Regions from separate parts of the Homo sapiens genome. Here all the other regions are linked to region 1. Evidence: promoter capture Hi-C in 16 types of primary human blood cells and fetal thymus (Javierre and others, 2016). All regions are on one chromosome and are shown on one strand. Each heading gives the region's core, a stretch centred on a gene start or on the middle of the fragment in contact. The rest is flanking DNA. Distances are from core to core; before and after follow the strand shown.

The links. Contacts are between HindIII fragments. The CHiCAGO score rates a contact against its expected background, and 5 or more counts as called.
Region 2: a fragment that was not itself captured here is called in contact with the fragment with the promoter of GSK3A in region 1 in 5 of 17 cell types (total B cells, monocytes, activated CD4 T cells and 2 more); the score reaches 8.7 in total B cells.
Region 3: a contact is called between a fragment that was not itself captured here and the fragment with the promoter of GSK3A in region 1, in 3 of 17 cell types (neutrophils, naive CD4 T cells and M2 macrophages). The highest score is 8.7, in neutrophils.

What each region holds. Positions count from the first base shown.
Region 1 is chr19:42,241,341-42,244,040 of GRCh38, reverse strand. It overlaps GSK3A (glycogen synthase kinase 3 alpha), which reads left to right and starts at 1,439. Exons shown (of 11, transcript NM_019884.3): 1 at 1,439-1,858. The coding sequence starts at 1,576. RefSeq lists enhancers at 1-153, 768-817, 154-948, 878-1,087 and silencers at 1,378-1,587, 1,618-1,897. The HindIII fragment of the contact is 12,371 bases long and covers 1-2,700 here.
Region 2 is chr19:42,090,358-42,093,057 of GRCh38, reverse strand. It overlaps POU2F2 (POU class 2 homeobox 2), which reads left to right. Exons shown (of 15, transcript NM_001394376.1): 13 at 788-989; 14 at 1,118-1,191; 15 at 1,467-2,700. The coding sequence ends at 1,801. Among named protein-coding and RNA genes, the nearest start is that of ZNF574, 16 kb to the right of the region's middle. The HindIII fragment of the contact is 4,433 bases long and covers 1-2,700 here.
Region 3 is chr19:42,439,039-42,441,738 of GRCh38, reverse strand. The region is part of intron 1 of CXCL17 (C-X-C motif chemokine ligand 17); the gene reads left to right. The region is part of intron 1 of LIPE-AS1 (LIPE antisense RNA 1); the gene reads right to left. Among named protein-coding and RNA genes, the nearest start is that of CXCL17, 2.6 kb to the left of the region's middle. RefSeq lists a silencer at 1,275-1,364. The HindIII fragment of the contact is 3,145 bases long and covers 1-2,700 here.

The DNA of each region.
Region 1 (2,700 bases), core at 190-2,689:
TTTTTTTTTTTTGAGACGGAGTCTCACTCTTTTCGCCCAGACTGGAGTGCAGTGGCGCGATCTCGGCTCACTGCAACCTATGCCTCCCGGGTTCAAGCGATTCTCCTGCTTCAGCCTCCTGAGTAGCTGGTATTACAGGCGCCCGCCACCACACCCGGCTAATTTTTGTACTTTTAGTAGAGACGGGGGTTTCGCTATGTTGGCCAGGCTGGTCTCGAACTCCTGACCTCGGATGATCCGCCAGCCTCGGCCTCCCAAAGTGCTAGGATTACAGGCGTGAGCTACTGGCGCCCAGCCTGAGCCACAGCGCCAGGCCCAGAAATGACATTTCCGTCTTTTTAATGCTCCATTCAGCTTCCTGGTGCGAACCACATTGCTAGGAAAAGCTAGACTGTATCCGAAGACTAGTTAGTGTTCTGAGAAACCGCCGGGAACTTTGTTTCCCGAATCTTTGCAGAGTTGCGGTTAGAGAGGGGACATTTTTTCTTTCCTGATCTATGGTCACCTGGAACTTAAAGGTGCTTGGATCCATTTTCCAGCAGTCCTTGATCGACCTCGGCTCTTTCTTAAAGAAGGACCTGGGGGCGAGGAAGGAGGCGCTGAAACACTTTTAAGTCTCTCCAGGGAACTGCCGCAGTCTCTAACCTTTCGTTCACACGCCCCTGATGGTGGCCATTGGACTTCGCTTCCCGGCAAGCCTCCGCAGACTGGCCTCACAGAGGGTCAGGTCTGGACTATTCCCCAGCATGCTTGGAGCTCATGGGCGATCCCGCCCCCTCAGTCAATGGGGAGGATACGTCGAACTCCATTTCCCAGAACACACCAGGGCTCGCTGTGGCAACTGCACTGAGGCCTTGGTGCTGACTACACTTCCCGGCAGGGACTGCGGCCCAGCGTACCTGGAAAGAGGAGCGCGTAAACCTACTCCATTTCCTCGCCCATCTCCGGAACTGCAGTATCCACCTGGGGCTTAAAAACCACCTGAGACTCCATTTCCCGGCGTGCTTTAAAAATCGCTTTACACCTGCAATGCGGTGAGGGCGTGGCGACGACTCCATTTCCCGGCTTGCCTCACGGCCCGAGACCCGCAGGTTCACGCGGGCCGACTCAATTTCCCAGAGCGCACCGAGCTCTGGGAGGCATACACAGCTAATAGACTGAGTGAGTGGACTCCGTTTCCCAGCGTGCATCAGGCTCTCTGCTTCCTAAAGTGCTTCAGGGCTCCCCGTCGTACAGTCGGCTGACAGATTACCCTGGACTCCATTTCCCGACGTACAGCGTGACCCGTCATTCCCGCCCATCATTCCCGCGGTCTACTCTGAGGCTTTTGTGGACTTCATTTCCCGGCGTGCCACGCGGCTCTCTGTGCGGGCCGAGGGCGGTGACGGCGGCGCGGACGACAGCCGGACTGCATCTCCCGGCGTGCCCCGCGGCGGGCGCTGGGCCGGAGCCGGAGCCCAAGCCAGAGCGGCGCGGCCTGGAAGAGGCCAGGGCCCGGGGGAGGCGGCGGCAGCGGCGGCGGCTGGGGCAGCCCGGGCAGCCCGAGCCCCGCAGCCTGGGCCTGTGCTCGGCGCCATGAGCGGCGGCGGGCCTTCGGGAGGCGGCCCTGGGGGCTCGGGCAGGGCGCGGACTAGCTCGTTCGCGGAGCCCGGCGGCGGAGGCGGAGGAGGCGGCGGCGGCCCCGGAGGCTCGGCCTCCGGCCCAGGCGGCACCGGCGGCGGAAAGGCATCTGTCGGGGCCATGGGTGGGGGCGTCGGGGCCTCGAGCTCCGGGGGTGGACCCGGCGGCAGCGGCGGAGGAGGCAGCGGAGGCCCCGGCGCAGGCACTAGCTTCCCGCCGCCCGGGGTGAAGCTGGGCCGTGAGTACTAGTGGCGCCCGTGTAGGGTGGTGATTAGGGTTCCCAAAGCTCCTCAGACATCCATCAGATTCTTTCATGTGCTTAGATAGGAGCTCGAGGTCACTGTGCCTCCCCATACCGGGGATCCGAGCCCTCTTCCTCCCAGGAAAAGGAGTCTTGGGGTTACCATCTCTTGGAGATCAGAATTACTCGTGGATCAGAATTACTAACACTTAAAGAAACGGGTTACAAGTCTCTGTTCTTCCATTATTGAGGTCTTGGGTCCTTGAGCCTTAAGAACAGGTATCTGATGTTGCTATTCATTATAATATTGGATCAGAGGTCACAGTCGCTTGCAAATGGGGATCTAGGGTTATTGTCTCCTAAGAGAACAAGAATAAGACCAACCCCGAAAAAGAGGGATCTGCATTCCCTGTCCTTCAGAAGATGGGGATTTGGAGCGAATATCACTTAGAAGCAGGGCTTTGAGGTTACTGTGTTTTGTCCCCAAAGAATAGGGCCAGGCTTTCCAAACCTGGTACTCAGATCATCTTCCCTATTAAAACCAAGACCTGGCATCATTACCCACCCTAAATCTTGTTGAGCTGTACTGCCAATGGTGAGAATTAATAGTTACTGCCTTTTAGATATAAAGACATTGGGAGTCAGCATATCCTTCAAACCAAGTCCATAGTCCATGTTTTAAAATACATGGCTTGGTGTGTCTCCTTTAACAAAAATGGAATGGAGCAGGGTAGGTCACAGTTTCCTACAGAATATGGATCTAAGGTTATACTTTTTTAATAATTGTTCTAAGGTATGGTGTCATTGGCTCTGAAAAAAAAAAGTGATGTAGGGTTATC
Region 2 (2,700 bases), core at 175-2,674, 150 kb after region 1:
GCCTGGTGACAGAGTGAGATTCCATCTCAAAAAAAAAAAAAAAAAAAATATATATATATATATATATATACACACACACATAATATATATATGCATAATATATATACACATAATATATATACACATAAAACAACACGTTGCCCCTCCCCAGGCTAGAAAATAGTAAGTGGAGATTTATAAAGTAGTAAGTGCTTGCCTGGCACTGTACTAAACTCTTTCTAAACTGCATTGACTGACTTAATTCTCAAACTCATTTTATGAGATAGGGTCTATTATTATCCCCATTTTCCAGACAAGGGATCTGAAGGTCAGAGAGGTTAAGGCACTCACCCAAGGGCACCACTGGGATGAGACAGAGCCAGGAGTTTCTACCCCAGCAGTCTGGCTGAGTCTGGGCCCTCAGCCCCTGCCAGGTTGCCCATCCCTCAGATGTGGCAGTGTGCCTGGCACCCTTCGCCCCTCCCCAGCCCCTAGAGGGAGCCATAGGGCTTTGTCTCCTGGGCACCCCCGTTTCTAGTCGGTAAAAAAGTGGTTCAGGGCAGGGAGTGTAGAGTGCCAGGGCTCAGCAGGAAGCACCTGCTCTGACTTCCATTGTTATGACAGGGGTCACCATGGCAGAGGCACAGGGAAATGACTCTGGGAAGAGAGGGCAGGGAGGTCTAAGGCTGTTCTGACTGAGGAGATGCTGCGTGAGCTGGGCGGGAGGACAAGTAGGAGCTGACCCCAGGTTCCTCAGTGGGGGACGAGTGGAAGCTGAAGACCCCATCTTTCTGTCTCTCTCTGGCAGTTACTACCTTATCCTCAGCTGTGGGGACGCTCCACCCCAGCCGGACAGCTGGAGGGGGTGGGGGCGGGGGCGGGGCTGCGCCCCCCCTCAATTCCATCCCCTCTGTCACTCCCCCACCCCCGGCCACCACCAACAGCACAAACCCCAGCCCTCAAGGCAGCCACTCGGCTATCGGCTTGTCAGGCCTGAACCCCAGCACGGGGTAAGTGGGTGCACGTGGGAAGCTGTGGGGAGAAGCAGGGTCGCTGCTGCTTCTAGGGTGGGGAGCGGCACCCCAGTTATGTTGGCAGGTCCCTGCCCCTGCTAATGCCTCTGCTTTGCCTCTTGCAGAAGCACAATGGTGGGGTTGAGCTCCGGGCTGAGTCCAGCCCTCATGAGCAACAACCCTTTGGCCACTATCCAAGGTGCGTGCTGCCTCATGTCACACCCATCGTCACCAGCCCTATCCTCTGGGGCCTCGAGCCCTGCCATTGCTGCTCCAGCCATGCCATCCTGCCCCTGCTCACTGCATTGCTTGCCTCTTCATACCCATCTCACCTTTGGGGAAGGTGTGAGGGGTGCTGATGGGGGTCAGTGGGACCGATGGGGAGATGGGGGGCACTCTGGGCAGGATGCTGGAAGGCAAAGGTCTCCCCTGGCCCGGCATGCCCTTAGCCCAGCCTCTCTCTCTCCCCGCCAGCCCTGGCCTCTGGTGGAACCCTGCCCCTTACCAGCCTTGATGGCAGCGGGAATCTGGTGCTGGGGGCAGCCGGTGCAGCCCCGGGGAGCCCTGGCCTGGTGACCTCGCCGCTCTTCTTGAATCATGCTGGGCTGCCCCTGCTCAGCACCCCGCCTGGTGTGGGCCTGGTCTCAGCAGCGGCTGCGGCTGTGGCAGCCTCCATCTCCAGCAAGTCTCCTGGCCTCTCCTCCTCATCCTCTTCATCCTCATCCTCCTCCTCCTCCACTTGCAGCGAGACGGCAGCACAGACCCCTGGAGGTCCAGGGGGGCCCGAGGCAGGGTCCAAACCTGAGTGAGGGCCAGCCATGCCTCCCCTCCCATTCCTCTGGTCCCTGCCTTGGTCCCTTGCCTGGGAAGAGGGCGAGGAGGCCAGTGGTGGGGACGCAGAGGGTCCTCAGAGCAGGAGTGACAAGGGAGGAAAGACCAAAAAAACAACCAACCAAAAAAAAAAAAAAAAAGGAAAGAAACTAACCAACAAAAGAGAAAACCAAAAATAATCACAACAGAAACCAGCTGCCCCAAAGGAACCAGAGGTGAAAAACAAACAAAAAAAAACCAAAAACAAACCAAAAAAAAAAAAAACCCACAAAATCAAACAAACCAAAAAACCAGTCGCGAGCCAGACCTCAGCGTGCTCACCCTCACTGCTACGACGCCAAATAAAAACCCCAGCCAGGGGCGGAGAAGCCTCCAGCAGGTCAGACCTCATGCCACCGAGCCCTGGCTGTGGGACCAACCCCCAACCCTGCCTCCCCCGTGGGGGCTACAGAAGGAAAAAGAGAAGATGCCAGCTTCCTAATCCCAGCCCCCAGCCCTGGGCCAGCGAAGACAGGGCACAGCCTGGGCAGATGGGCTGGGGCTTAGCACCACCCACCAAATGTTCTTTTCCAGAAGGTGAAAGAGAAAGGGCCTGAACAACCTTACACCAAATATTCAGTAGCTTCATCCAAAGGATGTACAGAATTTTTAGCATTGTGCTCAACAGAATGTGTCCCTACCATGTGTCCCCTTCTCCCCTGGCCCCCAGCTCTCCCCACCTGGGCAGGGGGTCTTGCTTTAACCTCCTCCCTCCCCCCAGCAGGGGAGAGTTCAAGGGAAGGCCTGCGGACAACTTTTCATCCCCTGTTCCTCCCTCTTTTCCCCTTTGAAGGGTGGGCTAGGCCATTTTGCCAAGTTCTAGCTCTCACAAGTCCCT
Region 3 (2,700 bases), core at 163-2,662, 200 kb before region 1:
CACCATCTCCCCAAAGGCCACTTTGAGGTGAAATGGCTATGTTACATACTCAGCATCAACTTGGTCCTAAAATCAGGAGGCATTCTCCCTTCTCCACCCCAATTTCCAACATCCCCTCCTTTGTAGAGAGAGTGCTCTGGAAGCTGTTAAGCCCCATAGCCCTAGGGCCTAGACCACTGTTCTGAAAGGGAAGACTTTTCCATCACTATGACAGACACCCAGGCTAGAGTCCTCTGCCTGGATTCAAAGCTGTAGCCCCAACCTGCCTTTCTAGTGTACCTCCCTCTACTCACTAAAAATACTATTTCTCCAACCAAACTAACCTGTTTGCCCTTCCCTGAACAGGTATTGTGTTTTTCCACCAGTTCAACTTTGCTCACACACCCAGCTCAAAACCACCTTCCCACAGCTTCCTTCAGTTCCTCCCACAGCCAGACATGTGGTCTCCCTCCTGAGCGCTGGCTTAGCCCTGCTGGACACTCTCTTCTTGCACTTATCATCTGCTGCCTTATATTGAGGGCCTTCATGTGCCTTTCCTGCCCCCACCCCCTGTCCTTCTAGGCTGCAAACTACTTGGTGACACAGACTGGTGCACTGTTTCCATATCCCTCACGCTATCCAGCTCAGTACTCAGCAAACATTAGCTAACTGCAAGAATGCATCCTCAGGTTGCTAAATCAAACCAGGGCTTCATAGCAGCTCTACTGACATTTGGGCTGAACAGTTCCTTGCGGTGGGGGCTGTTCTGTGTATTGTGAGATGTTCAGCAGCATCCGCGTGGCCTCTCTCCCCTACATGCCAATAGCAGCCTCCCCTCTCCCTCATCCAAACCCCTGTTATGGCAGCCAAAAATATCTCTAGACATCGCCAAATGACCCCGGAGGGGGAACCACCCTTGGTCAACAACCACTGCTCTACACCAATACTTCTCTGCATGGCCACACTTTTAGACTCACCTAGACCTTTACACTCAGCTTGGAAGTCAGGGGGACCTAGATCCTGGCTCTGCCACACACTTTGCAACCCTAGACAAGTCGCCTCACTTTTTTGAGTTTCAGTTTTATCATCTTAAAATGAAGAAAATACCACTTGTCACACACACTTGTGAAGATTAAATGATCCGCAGCGTGTCCTAGAAAGGGTTTAATAAATGGACTGAGTAGTTTCTAAGTCGCTCCTAAAGCACGAGGGTGAGGAACTGGGGAAAGCTCCCTGCGCCACCAGGGGGCGCCATCACAAACCACGTCGAGTGGGTGGCGGCCGGGCTCAAATCTTGTTTCCCAGCCAAGCAAAGTTTTGCAGTGCAGGCCTGAGTCTGAGCTACTTAGTGGCTAAAGGAAATAATAGCTCCTCCATCCCCAAAATAAATCTCAGAATAAAGTCTAATCTTATTTTATCTCTTAATCACATACATGCTCAATATGCTTTTCACAGGGTTAAGGGAAATAGAAATAAGTGAGAATATATGAGGTCATTAGGAAATAAATTACTTAAAATAACAGATTATTCATTAATTATAATATTATTTAATTATAAAATTACTTATAATATCAGACACATTAAGAACTCCTATATCACAAGCATTGTTCTAATCACTTCACACTTACTATCTCATTTGTCCTCACAAATCTAATGCATTTCTTACTTTTTCTTACTTTTCATTTTTCAGACTTTGAAAAATATTGTAAAAATAGAGTTCCAGTACAGCCTTCATCCAATTGTTTTCAAACAATATCTTATGTAACCATAATACAATTATCAAAACCAGGAGATTAGCACTGATACCATAATATTAACTAATCTACAAATGTTCAAATCTTGCTAATCATCCCACTCATGTCCTTTTTCTGCTCCAGACTCCAATCTGGGATCCCACTGAATAAAATGTCAGATCTCCTAGGTCTCCTCCAACCTGGGATAGTTTCTCAGTCTTTCCCTCTCTTTCAGGACCTTGACACTTTTGAAGAGTTCTAGCCAGTTGTTTTGTAGAATGCCCCCTGAATATGGGTTTGTCTGATATTTCCGGCTACACATTTTGGGCAAGAATACTTCAGAAGTGATGTATCCTTCTCTGGACATCCCAGCAAGAGCCCCAGGATGTCGATATCTCTCATTACTGATGAGGTTCACTTTAAGCACTTGGTTCAGGTGGTGTCTGCCAGGTTTCTCTACTGTAAAGTTACTATTCATCTTATTGTAATTAATAAGTATCTTGTGGAGAGACACTTTGGAAATATGTAAATAGCCTGTTTCTTCTCATCATACTTTTTTTTTTCTTGTTATTCACCAGTTATGGCATCATCATACTTTTAATATTAACTTTTAGAATCTATGGATGATTGTTTCCTATAAAGAATTATTACTGTGGTGTTGGCCAAATAGTGATTTTCTACTTCCATTGTTCCTTCTACATTTATTTAATCGGAATTCTGCCATAAGAAAGAGTTATTCCTTTTTCTTTTTCTTTTTTTTTTTTTTTTTTTTTGAGATAGAGTCTTGCTCTGTTGCCTAGGCTGGAGTGCAGTGGTGTGATCTTGGCTCACTGCCGCCTCCACCTTCTGGGCTCAAGCGATCCTCCCACCTCAGCCTCCTGAGTAGCTGGGACTACAGGCAGACACCACCACACCCAGCTAATTTTTGTATTTTTAGTAGAGACGGGGTTTTGTCATGTTAGCCAGGCTGGTCTCTAATTCCTGGCCT